2 separate regions of the Homo sapiens genome follow, and region 1 is linked to region 2. Evidence: promoter capture Hi-C in human tissues and cell types (Jung and others, 2019). All regions are on one chromosome and are shown on one strand. The core of a region is centred on a gene start or on the middle of the fragment in contact, and the rest is flanking DNA. Distances in the headings are between cores, read along the strand shown.

Region 1 (5,500 bases), core at 1,334-3,833, 610 kb after region 2:
GTCTGTAATCTTTGAAGACCTGGTGCAATCTCCCGTGGTGTGGTGTCTACCTGGATTCAGCAAAATTCGCCCAGCTGGACCTGCAGCAGATGCCACGTGTTGGGCGTCTTCCACATGATCAGCAGGCACACGGCAAGAAAGCTGCCTACACGGACCCCACACGGTGTTAGGACAGATGCCTTGTGATCTCTATGTCTCGTGTGACCCTCTATCACACAAACTGGCTTTAATCTCAGAATCTGGGGTCAGGGAGAGTCACACAGCCTTCACGTTAGAAGTGAATGGGATCCACAGAGCCTACTGCCAGAAACGGAAGACACCCTGCTGTCCAGGTGCACAGCTGCCCAGCAAGGCCCCACTCAGAGGCACGAAGCTCCTGTGGCATCTTAGATGCCTCCCAAGCTTCAAAGCGGGACAGGCCTAGAGCATCACGCATGGCTCCACTGAAGCCAGAGCTCCCAGGACCCAGGTCCCTCTGAGGGATGGCCCAGAGAGAAAGCAACGCAGCCACATGGCCCTGGTCCCACTACAGTGATCACAGAGGTCCAAAAGGGGCATTTCTCTTCTCTTTGTGTCTTCATGTTCCATCTAGTGAATATGTCATCCTCATTCCTTTGGATTTTGTTAGCGATTACAAGAATCCAGTTGCGTTGGGTCACATAAATTGCTAAGGAATCTGGATCACGGTCACCTTCTGGATCTGTTGGGTGCTGTAGTCTGGCTGTTCCCCTTATGCCACTGGCCAGGTAATTAGACTCAAATATGTGGGTGAATTTACTGCCTCCCTTCTGCCTCCTGCTTTTTTTTTTTTTTTTTTTTTTTTTTGAGACAGGGTCTTGTTCTGTCACCCGGGCTGGAGTGCAGTGGTGTGATCACATCTCACTGCATCCTCCCACTCCCAGGTTCAAGCCATCCTCCCACCTCACCTCCCAAAGCAATGTGACTACAGGAATGGGCCACTATACCCGGCCCACATTTACCCTTTTAATTGATTTGTTTTCTACTGCCTTTTTGAATCACATACTTTGAAATGCATACATTCTTTGGGTACAGTTTAATGATATTCTACAAATTTACTCACGCCTGTGTTTATCTCCCCAGCAAAGACACAGAATGTTTTCATCTCCTTGGAAATTTCCTACAGTCATCTGTGATTTTGTGCCTACCCCTACCCTCACAGGGACATCTGCTTCTTTCTTGTGGGTGGGTGAGGAGGCTTCTGTGTAAACTTACCTGGGCAGGTGAGCATTCAGGAGCAAAGCGGCCCCAGTCCTGTAGCAGGGCCATTGCCCCACAGACCCTGCCATTATCCAGGCCAGCTGGAGCTGCAGGTGGTCCCTGAGCCATCACCGCACCCACCTTCCTCCTGTGTCCTCTTTCCCTCGAGGCTCTCACAGCCCCCACCTGTGTGGAAGAGTGGAGTGGGGTCAGTGGTCCTGGGGCCCCCAGGCCACAGCAGCTACTTGGGCTGCCCAGGGCTTCCTGTCTGTGGATGGAGGATGCTGGAGAAGTGAGGCTGTGGTCCTGGCACCACCCCTGCTGTGTCTGGAGCCACCTGACCCATCCTGGGTGTCTGCTGGCCACTCACCATATGCCACCCCATTTTCAGCTGGGCAGAAAGAAGCTTGTAAGGCCATCACAGACAGAGAAACTGAGGCAGAGGAGAGGCTGGTCTGAGCTGGGACAGCCTGAAGCCCGGATGCTCGACAGAGCCAAGGGGGAATGGGGGCTGCAGCAGGCCAGGCCTCGAGGTGGGGTGAGAAGGTACATTCCCAACCCCAGGAGGGTGAGGTGGGGGCAGCTGCATGCTGGAGGGTTTCATGGTCCCTTTGGAGGAAGGATTATGGGAGGTGCTCCTGGATCTCTCTTGGGATGATGGGGTTTGCTACAGAGACAGCCTGGGCTAGGCCCCCTGGTCACTGAGCACAGTTCCAGACTTTTTGAGTTAGGTGCACCTGACACCTCCACCCAGCCCCTTACATAGAACATGCTTCGTCAGGCCTACCACCAGCCCATACCACCAGCCACCCCTGGGGTCGTCCAAGCACTCCTCAGGGACCCACCTCCTCCTGCTCTGCAGCCCATCAGGGCTCCCCGTTGACAGATGAGGCTGGAGAGGGCTGTGTCCAGGAGGGGATGGGACTGTGGGTGGGGCCGGCAGTAGGCCCAAGGGGAGTTTGGGCAGCTGCTGTGAGTAACCAGCCCACCATGCGCCATGCAGGGCACATTGCAGGTACATGGCAGGGGGTTCCAGAGAGGGCCTGGGGGTGCAGGGAGTTCTAGAGTGGGCCTGGGGGTTAGCAGGGAGTTCTAGATCAGGCCCTGTGGGTGACAGTGGCTTCTGTTTGGAAGGACTTTGAGAGAGGAATGGGAATGTTGAGGGGTTTGTCCACCCAACTCTGCAGTCCCGTGGCAACTGTGCCCTGTATGTGAGACCACTGATAAACCCCTGCATTGGATGGGTGGATGGTGTATGGATAGGATGTGAGGGGCTTTGGTATTTGACCTCTAGGCCAGAATACCTGTCCCTGAGCTGTGCAGGCTCCGAGAGCCCAGAATGTCTTACCAGTCACTGGCCTCCCTCAGGATGGGCTAGAAGCTCTAAAGGCCACACAGTGCCCACAGTCCAAATCCCAGCAGAGCTGAGTCCCCGTGTCCAGCTGAGATACGATCCCTGGGAAGCAGCTCTGCTCCTACACCAGGGGCCCTGCTGAGGCGCTGGAGCTCATGTTCCTGTGTGCAAGGAGCTCCCAGAGTGTCCCCAGGTCCCAGGCCACCAAGGCCCCCCCTCAGACCAGAGCCCCAGGTCTGCTCTGCACCAGAGGCCAGGAAGGGGTAGGGGAGCTCCTGAGGAAGGAGGGGGTTGGGGGAGCTCCCGAGGGAAGGAGGGGGTTGGGGGAGCTCCCGTGGGAATGAGGGAGTGGGGGGAGCTCCCGTGGGAAGGAGGGGGTGGTGGAGGGAGCTCCCGTGGGAATGAGGGAGTGGGGGGAGCTCCCGTGGGAAGGATGGGGTGGTGGAGGGAGCTCCCGAGGGAAGGAAGGAGGTTGGGGGAGCTCCCATGGGAAGGAGGGGGTGGGGGCAGCTCCCGTGGGAAGGAGGGGGTTGGGGGAGCTCCCGTGGGAAGGAGTGGGTGGGGGGAGCTCCCGTGGGAAGAAGGGGGTGGTGGAGGGAGCTCACGAGGGAAGGAGGAGGTTGGGGGAGCTCCCGTGGGAAGGAGGGGGTTGGGGGAGCTCCCCTGGAAGGAGGGTGTTGGGGGGAGCTCCCGTGGGAAGGAGAGGGTGGGGGGAGCTCCCGTGGGAAGGAGGGGGTTGGGGGAGCTCCTGTGGGAACGAGGGGGTGGTGGAGGGAGCTCCTGAGGGAAGGAGGAACTAGTGTGGGGAGCTCCTGAGGGAAGGAGGGGGTGGGGGGCACCTCCTGAGGGAAGCCGGGGGTGGTGGGGGGAGCTCCTGAGGGAAGGCGGGGCTGGGGGGGCGGCTCCTGTGGGAAGGAGGGGTTGGGGGCACCTCCTGAGGGAAAGAGGAGTTCAGGAGGTCGTGGGAGGACACCTGCCGGGGCCCTGGCGAGGCTGCGGTGCCTGTGCTGCCCGCTGGCTTGGAAGGCAGCCTGGTCTATCGAGAAGGGACCTGCCCTGGGGCCCAGCCCCGCCTGTGTGTTGCTGCCCCTCCCCACAGCTGGGCCTGTCCCAAGGTGTCTTCCTCCAACCCTCTTTGCCCCTCATAGGAGAACAGCAGTGTGAGGCGCGGTGTGAGGCTGCTGGGTGGCCTGGAGGATCCCTGCCTAGAGAAGCCCCTGGGGTCTGGAGCGCAGGTGTCTGAGCACACTGCTTCCTTTGGCGCTGGGCCCTGCAGCTCCTGCCCCAATGCCTGACCTTCCCAGCTACCCTCTGTGTCCTGCCAGGGACCCTCCTGCCAGGGCCACACCACCCCTCAGCCCTGAGCCAGCCACAGTGCCCCTCTCACCCTCTGTGATCCCCCAGTCCAGGGCCCAGCCTCTCTGTAAGTCTCAGCCAAAGTGGAACTGATCTCTGTCTCCTCCCCAGCACCCAGTGGGCCCACCCACCTCGGCTCCCTGACTGGAGGCCAGCCTGACTTCCAGCTCCTGCAGAGCCGTGGCCGCCCACGGCATTGGTCCTGTGCCCAAGCTGGTGTGGTGGAATTTGGCCCAGCAGCCCAGACATGGCTAGATCCTCCCTCTGCAATGGCTGGGGTGCCGGGGGGCTCCCAGTATGAAATTCCCTTCGCCACAGCTGTCATGTTCCTGGGACGGCCCTCTGGAGCTGGCCTGAGGAGCATCCCAGTGGGCGATGCCCCTGCCCCCTGCTGCCAAGAGGCACAGAACCAGCTCTGATGGCACTGGGTGCTGGGGAAGCTGGGGCAGCCAGCTTCTCTCAGGGCAGGGCCCTGTGTGGCTGGACAGGGGTGTGCTGCAGCTCCACACCCCAGGCCTCAGTTTCTCCCACCGTAAGAGCTTCCTGGGGATTTCCTGGGAGCCAGGAGGGAGTGCAGGGCCCTGCTCTCCCCGCAGGCACATCCCCCACTGCCCCAGCCAGCACAGCTGGTCCTGATTAGAGTAGGGCCCAGCTCCCCTCCTGAAATGAGCAAGTCAGGCAGGGGAGGAAACCTGATCCCAGTCCCTCATCCCACATTCCAGCCCAGCAGCCGCAGGCAGCATGGCTCCTGACTTCTCTTGGCCCCAGAGGGCTGGGGGGACTCCTGGGAAGTGCGGCTGGGATGTGGCTTCCAGCAGGAGACCTGTTTGGAGAGAGGTCTCCTCCCATGGCCTGGCTTCCCAGGGATGCTGGCTTTTGGCTCAGGCCTCCTCGGAAGGCATGAGGGCTGCCTGTCTTCCTCCCAGGGCCAAGTACTGGCTGATCCCAGCACAGTAGGCTCCGAGCTCTGGGGCATTTGAGAAGATAGCCCCTCAGGCCACCTCCCATCCCCTAGCACCACAGGGCCTGCCAAGCAAAATGGAAGGGCAGAAGTCCCCAGGACCCTGGGGCAGCCCAGCCCTGACTTGAGCGGCCCCAGCTTTGCTCTCCCAATCCCTCTTCCGTGCAGCTGGCTGGAGGCTGGGCTGCCCTGGCCCAGCATCGGGAGAGCAGTGGGTGGCACACTCGGTCACTTGTGCAGGAGGTCATGCTGGAGTGACCAGGACTTCCCAGGACCCTTTGAGGGGCCCAGGCCCTGATTCCCAGCCTCCTTGGAAGAGGCTCCTGCTGGTGTGGGATCTACCTTGGGAAGTTTATGGGACCCTGCACCCCCGTGAGCACAGGCCCCTGGGGCAGGGAGACAGCCCCATGCAGGGGGATCACCCACATCAGGCTGTGCCTCTGTCTCCAGCAGAGCATTTGCCATGGGTTGGGGTGAGCTGTGCCTGCCAGAGATGCCACAGAGGCCCTTGACCCCTGCGAGGCCTGGCACAGCCCTGAGGTGGAGGGCTTCGGCTCCCAGACCCATGCTCTGGAGCAGAGGCCCCTGGAGCACCTATGATCGGCTAAGGC
Region 2 (5,789 bases), core at 2,394-4,893:
GCTTGGGACACCTGGCAGCCAGGTGTGGCTTTGGGACAGGGACTCCATGTCTCGGTGTGGAGGAGGTGCACTGTCCCAGGAGTGAGTTGTGTGGCAACGGCAGTGGGGAGGTGAAGCAGCCAGCCTGTCTGCCGGGACCAGCCTGTGTGCCATGGCCCTGGAGAGGGGGCTTGATTACGGCTGATAAGACGCCATCTCTACAAAAACTTAAAAATATTAGCAGGGCATGGTGGCGTGCGCCTGTGGTCCCAGGACTCAGGAGGCTGAGGCAGGAAGACTGCTTGAGCCCGTGAGTTCAAGGCTGTAGTGAGCTATTGCGCCACTGCACTCCACCCTGGGTGATGGTGAGATCACATCTAGGAAAAAAAAAAAAAAGGAAAAGGAAAAACAAAGCAGCCTGTTCACAACCCACTACATTGGTTTGCTGACCAACTGAGGGAAAAGCCCCTGCAGCTGGTAGAAGGGTGCTCCTATGAGCAGAGGGCCAAGCGCGCCACCTGCATGAGAGTCCCTGCCTAGAGTTAGGGTCACGCTCTGGCAACTAGAAATATGGCCTTTGGAAAACAAGTCCCTTGTAGCTTCCAGGCCAGAGAAGTAAACAGTGATCTCTTTAGGGAACTCTGAATCCCTAAAGAGGCTACAGAAAATCCCCAGGTGCCTCAGTCTCTTACCCACCCCCCTCCCTCCCCAAACTGCACCCAATTGCGCCCCCACCCCATTCCTGCTGAGTGGGCTGCACCCACCTGAAATGGGAGAGGAGGGTCAGTGTTGAGTGGCCACTTGCCTGGAAGGGGTCCCTCCGCCTCTCCTGAGTTGCAGGACCTCAGGCGTGTGGCCGTGGGCTGACAGGGTAGCTCAGCTTAGGTGAGGCACTGGGGGCTCTGGTGGTAGTGGGAGCTAGGGCAGTGGGGAAGGCTCAGGAGTGCCATGAAGCTCAATTGTGGGAAGGGAATGCCCAGGGGACAGGATGGGTCTTGCCCTAAGACACGGACAAGAAGGGAGCAGGGACATTGAGGTGAGCCAGGAGCTTGGCTCACTCCCCACCCTCCGTCCCTGTCTTTTGCAGGACATGAAGGAACCCCTGAGCAGGTATGTGGTCCCCTCAGGCAGGGGCGGGGGCAGTGGCAGCGGTGGGCGGGGGGGACAATAAGACTGTCGGGCCAGGGGAGTCAATAAGACTCCCCTGTGTGTGCCCACCGGAGGAAGAACAACGTGAGTGTGCAGTGCCCAGAGGTTGCCCCCCCAACCAGACCCAGGACTGTGTGCAGAGTTCCCGGACAGATTGAAGTGCTAAGAGGCTTTCTAGGTAAGTGGGCACCCAGGGCCAGGACCTCTGACCCAGGATCTCTTGGCGATGCCCCACTGTACCCCCTAGCCTCGGAAGCCACCAATGGGGGGGGTTCTACAAGTGCACTGCCTGGTGACGGTCACTGGCTATTCACTGTGCCTTCGTAGGGCGGCGTTACTGGTGGTTCTAATTCATGGGATGAATCTTGTTGAGTTCCCAGTGGTCTCTCTGCCCAGCCCCCTGTACCTTATTGCCACCAAGGCCCACACACAATTGGTGTGTGGAAGCATCAAGTAACCCCAGATTCACAGCAGGGGAGGCCTCTGCGGAGTTAGGGGACCATTGGCCACATCCACCACTAGGGCCCGGGGACTCCCACCTTTGACCCTGAATGCCCCACACCTCTCCCCATCTCTCCACCACCACGCCCATCTACAGAGGATGTGGTGCCTGATGCCACCTCCGCGTACCCCTACCTCCTCCTGTATGAGAGCCGCCAGAGGCGCTACCTCGGCTCTTCGCCGGAGGGCAGTGGGTTCTGCAGCAAGGACCGATTTGTGGCTTACCCCTGTGCTGTGGGCCAGACGGCCTTCTCCTCTGGGAGGCACTACTGGGAGGTGGGCATGAACATCACCGGGGACGCGTTGTGGGCCCTGGGTGTGTGCAGGGACAACGTGAGCCGGAAAGACAGGGTCCCCAAGTGCCCCGAAAACGGCTTCTGGGTGGTGCAGCTGTCCAAGGGGACCAAGTACTTATCCACCTTCTCTGCCCTAACCCCGGTCATGCTGATGGAGCCTCCCAGCCACATGGGCATCTTCCTGGACTTCGAAGCCGGGGAAGTGTCCTTCTACAGTGTAAGCGATGGGTCCCACCTGCACACCTACTCCCAGGCCACCTTCCCAGGCCCCCTGCAGCCTTTCTTCTGCCTGGGGGCTCCGAAGTCTGGTCAGATGGTCATCTCCACAGTGACCATGTGGGTGAAAGGATAGACACAGACCGGGGGACTCGGGCACTGCTCCTGGCTCTGCAGAAGGTGTGGGCCTTCTGCTTACTGCAGGCCACCTGCCAGGGTTCTCTGGCATCACGCTGGCAGCCATTAGACACACAGGGGGGTTTCTCAAATTCTAAATATAATTGTGATTAGAACTGTCAAACATTAAGAGGGTATACTGACAGATGCTTCCTAGAGGAAACTTTTGAAAGCCCCTGCGTTCTGAGTGGACCGATTTCTAAATCCATACCTACACACCAGGAACAGCGTGGTCACGTTTTTTTTAGCCATGCCCCCACCCCCACTTTGGAATGACAGGAATCTGTGGCTCCCAGCCCCCCCAGGGGTTTAGGTTACTCTGTCAAAGAAGTAGAAATATCCTATGGTGGGGAGGAGCGGGGGTGGTTGCTGTGTCAGGGATGGTCCCAGGCTGCCCATAGAAATGTCCTATGCATCCTATTGGGTCCTTCGATGGGGGAAAATGGGAAAGGCTGAACCCGTAAAAAGCCTCAGAGCTGCCCACCCCCATCCCGTTCGATCCCCAAAGTTGCACGAGCAGGGGCAAAATCCCAAAGAGATTAGGATTTATGTAGGGGCCTCTTTTCCACAGCGCCCTTACCTTTTCCAAGGAACCCCCCACCCACCCCTGCAGGGTCAAGCACTTTAACAGCCTGTGTCAGTCACTAGCAAGGCAGAATTCCAGAGTAAGCGTACTCCTACCTCGACAAAGCCGGAGTGTCTGCGCGAGGGGCTGCCTGGAACAGCATGCCCCTTTGGAGTGGTTCCCGCAGAAAGAATGTGGGCCTCCTGGAGAGCTGGTCCTGGAGGGATGCCCCCGTCCCATCCCCCAACTCCAATCATTCTGACCTTGGCCTGCCAAGGCTGTGAGGGCCGGGCCTTCCGAGGATACCCGCCCTGGGAAGCACGGGCTGAGGGGGTGAGGACGCACTAGGGGTATGGCGAAGGGCTCCAATGCCCCAGGCTGCGGACTCCCTTAGTCCTTGCAGTTGCTTCCGTGTGCCCCGCCCTGAGTCCCCATCCCTCCTTGCCCTGCCCCCTGCTCCATCCCTCCCCTGCGCCCCGCCCCCTGTCCCCATCCCTCCCCTGCGCCCCGCCCCCTGTCCCCATCCCTCCCCTGCGCCTGAGTCCTCCCCAGGGCAGGGGTAAAAGACCTGGCCACAAGAACCGGAGCGGTGGTGACGCCAGGTCAGCAAGTGAAAGCTCTCCAATTCCGTCCCGCCCGCGGGCCGCGTGACTGGCAGCGGCCAATCGGAGGCAAAAGCGGGTTGTTCCAAAAAAAAAAAAAAAAAAAAAAAAAAAAAAAAAAAAACACACAAAACCCACCCAGTCGCTTCCTGCTTCCGCCTCGGCTCCTCTTCCTGCCGGCATCCGGGATCCCTACGTCCCGCGTCCCCCGAGCGCTCGGAGCCTACGCGCCCAGCGCTACCGAAACCCAGAGTCCTGCGCCCTGGAGTCCCCGCGCCCCGGAGCCCGAGCACCCGGGAGTCCCGAGCCTCGCGCCCCGGAGTGCCCGAGCCTGCGCCGCCGCACCCGGATACCCCGCGTCCCCGCGAGCTGCCGAGGCCGCCCGCCGCCGCCCCGCGGACAGTACCGCCTTCCTCCCCTCTGTCCGCGCCATGGCCGCCCCCGACCTGTCCACCAACCTCCAGGAGGAGGCCACCTGCGCCATCTGCCTCGACTACTTCACGGATCCGGTGATGACCGACTGCGGCCACAACTTCTGCCGCGAGTGCATCCGGCGCTGCTGGGGCCAGCCCGAGGGCCCGTACGCGTGCCCCGAGTGCCGCGAGCTGTCCCCGCAGAGGAACCTGCGGCCCAACCGCCCGCTTGCTAAGATGGCCGAGATGGCGCGGCGCCTGCACCCGCCGTCGCCGGTCCCGCAGGGCGTGTGCCCCGCGCACCGCGAGCCACTGGCCGCCTTCTGTGGCGACGAGCTGCGCCTCCTGTGTGCGGCCTGCGAGCGCTCTGGGGAGCACTGGGCGCACCGCGTGCGGCCGCTGCAGGACGCGGCCGAAGACCTCAAGGTGCTCCTGGGCGGGGGTGGCGTGCAGGGGCGTCGGGGAGCCGGGGACTGGGGAGGCCTGGGCGGGTGGGAGGTTTGGGGGACTGCTCCGGGAGTAATCTGTCTCTGTCTAGGGCGGGGAGCTCAGGATGCAGCCTGCTGTGGGCCTGTGAGGGGGGTGTCGCGCAGGGTGGCTGTGGGGGCTCATGACACAGCCTGTTTCAACCAGGCCCCTTGAGGCTGGGACCATGGCCGCCAATGAGACCCTGCTCTCGGGGGTGAGGGGCGTACCTCTCATAGATAGAGGCTAAGAGAGGAAGGTGGAAGGTGGAAGGTGGTGGAGTGGGGGCAAGGAAAATGTGGCCATACCCTGGCCAGCAAGGAGCTGGAATCAGAGGAAAGTGGGAGAACCTCAGAGGTGGCCGATCCTAGATGGACTCCCTGCAGGGACTGTGTTAGCAGGTCAGTACTTAAGTCCTGGGAAAGCCCCAGACTGGGCAGGATGAGGGGGACACAGTCGTTTCCTCTCTAACCTCCCCTCCAGGGCTGCCCTGCATTTCTGGGTGGGGTACTGGGAGCCATCTCTGCCATCTGAGATGCCAGGGCTCAGCCTGCCTTTTCTCCCCTTGTCTTGCTGCTTAAAACCCAAATAAAACCCGAGCTGAAGGGCCTGGGGCACACGTTCCCTGGCCTGCGCTCCCTCCCGCTGTCCTCTTTCCTCGCTGACCTGCTGCAGGTGTGCTCCTGGGAGCCTACGTGTGGGGCAGATGGCAGCATCTTTGGAGCTTTCTTGATTGCACTTTGTGTGTTGCATCATGGTCACTTGTGTGTGCCAGATGAGCAGTTAAGGCAGTGTTAGAATCAGTACTGAGCTTGATCTGTCCCTATCACAGAGCAAACTTCTGGGATACTAGAATAAATCTGAATCTGTCCCCTTCTGCTTTGGATTTTAGCAGAAAGGTGGTTTAGAGCCATATCCGTGGGCTTGTTCAGACACAGATTCATTTGGGTTTTCTTTTCTTTGCCCATGCAGGAATGTCTACACCTGAAACATGTTAGCCCAGCAGAATTACCCTTGTGACACCAATTACCCCAATGGGTGCAGAGAGTGCCCAATAGCTCTATAGAGTTGACTCGATATAGTTTCATGGGATAGCACTTAACCCTTTCTTTTGCAGGTGAAGAAAAAAATTTCCCTCTACCCTGTTAGGTTCAGTGGCTCAGGGCTGCAAATTAAACTGGCACAAGACAAATTAACAGGAAAAAAAATCATACAATTTGATTAATATTTTAAGTTTCACATGCACAAGAACTTCATAGAAAAGCGTATTTCAGCAAAGGTTTGTGAATTGTGGAGAAGTGACTGGACACAGAAATGGGATTGGGCGTCTAGGACTGATAAATTGTGGGAAAGTGACTAGGAAATAGATGGGAAGAATTAACACAAGATAATGGTCATTGTAGTAAGGTCTGTTTAGGCAGAATCA

What was found. Contacts are between HindIII fragments. The study calls those that stand out against the background at their distance.
Region 1: a contact is called between a fragment that was not itself captured here and the fragment with the promoter of TRIM11 in region 2, in 1 of the 25 tissues and cell types used here (spleen).

The regions. Positions count from the first base shown.
Region 1 is chr1:227,793,194-227,798,693 of GRCh38, reverse strand. No RefSeq gene overlaps it. Among named protein-coding and RNA genes, the nearest start is that of PRSS38, 20 kb to the left of the region's middle. RefSeq lists silencers at 2,560-2,760, 4,403-4,571 and an enhancer at 4,175-4,838. The HindIII fragment of the contact is 3,139 bases long and covers 1,014-4,152 here.
Region 2 is chr1:228,404,689-228,410,477 of GRCh38, reverse strand. TRIM11 (tripartite motif containing 11) reads left to right here and starts at 3,643. Exons shown (of 6, transcript NM_145214.3): 1 at 3,643-4,324. The coding sequence starts at 3,917. It overlaps TRIM17 (tripartite motif containing 17), which reads left to right. Exons shown (of 7, transcript NM_016102.4): 5 at 1,067-1,089; 6 at 1,203-1,306; 7 at 1,727-2,543. The coding sequence ends at 2,277. It overlaps LOC124904537 (a long non-coding RNA gene), which reads right to left and starts at 1,207. Exons shown (of 2, transcript XR_007066918.1): 1 at 744-1,207. RefSeq lists enhancers at 2,081-2,740, 2,932-2,981 and silencers at 3,332-3,401, 3,542-3,631, 3,692-3,931. The HindIII fragment of the contact is 21,686 bases long and covers 1-5,789 here.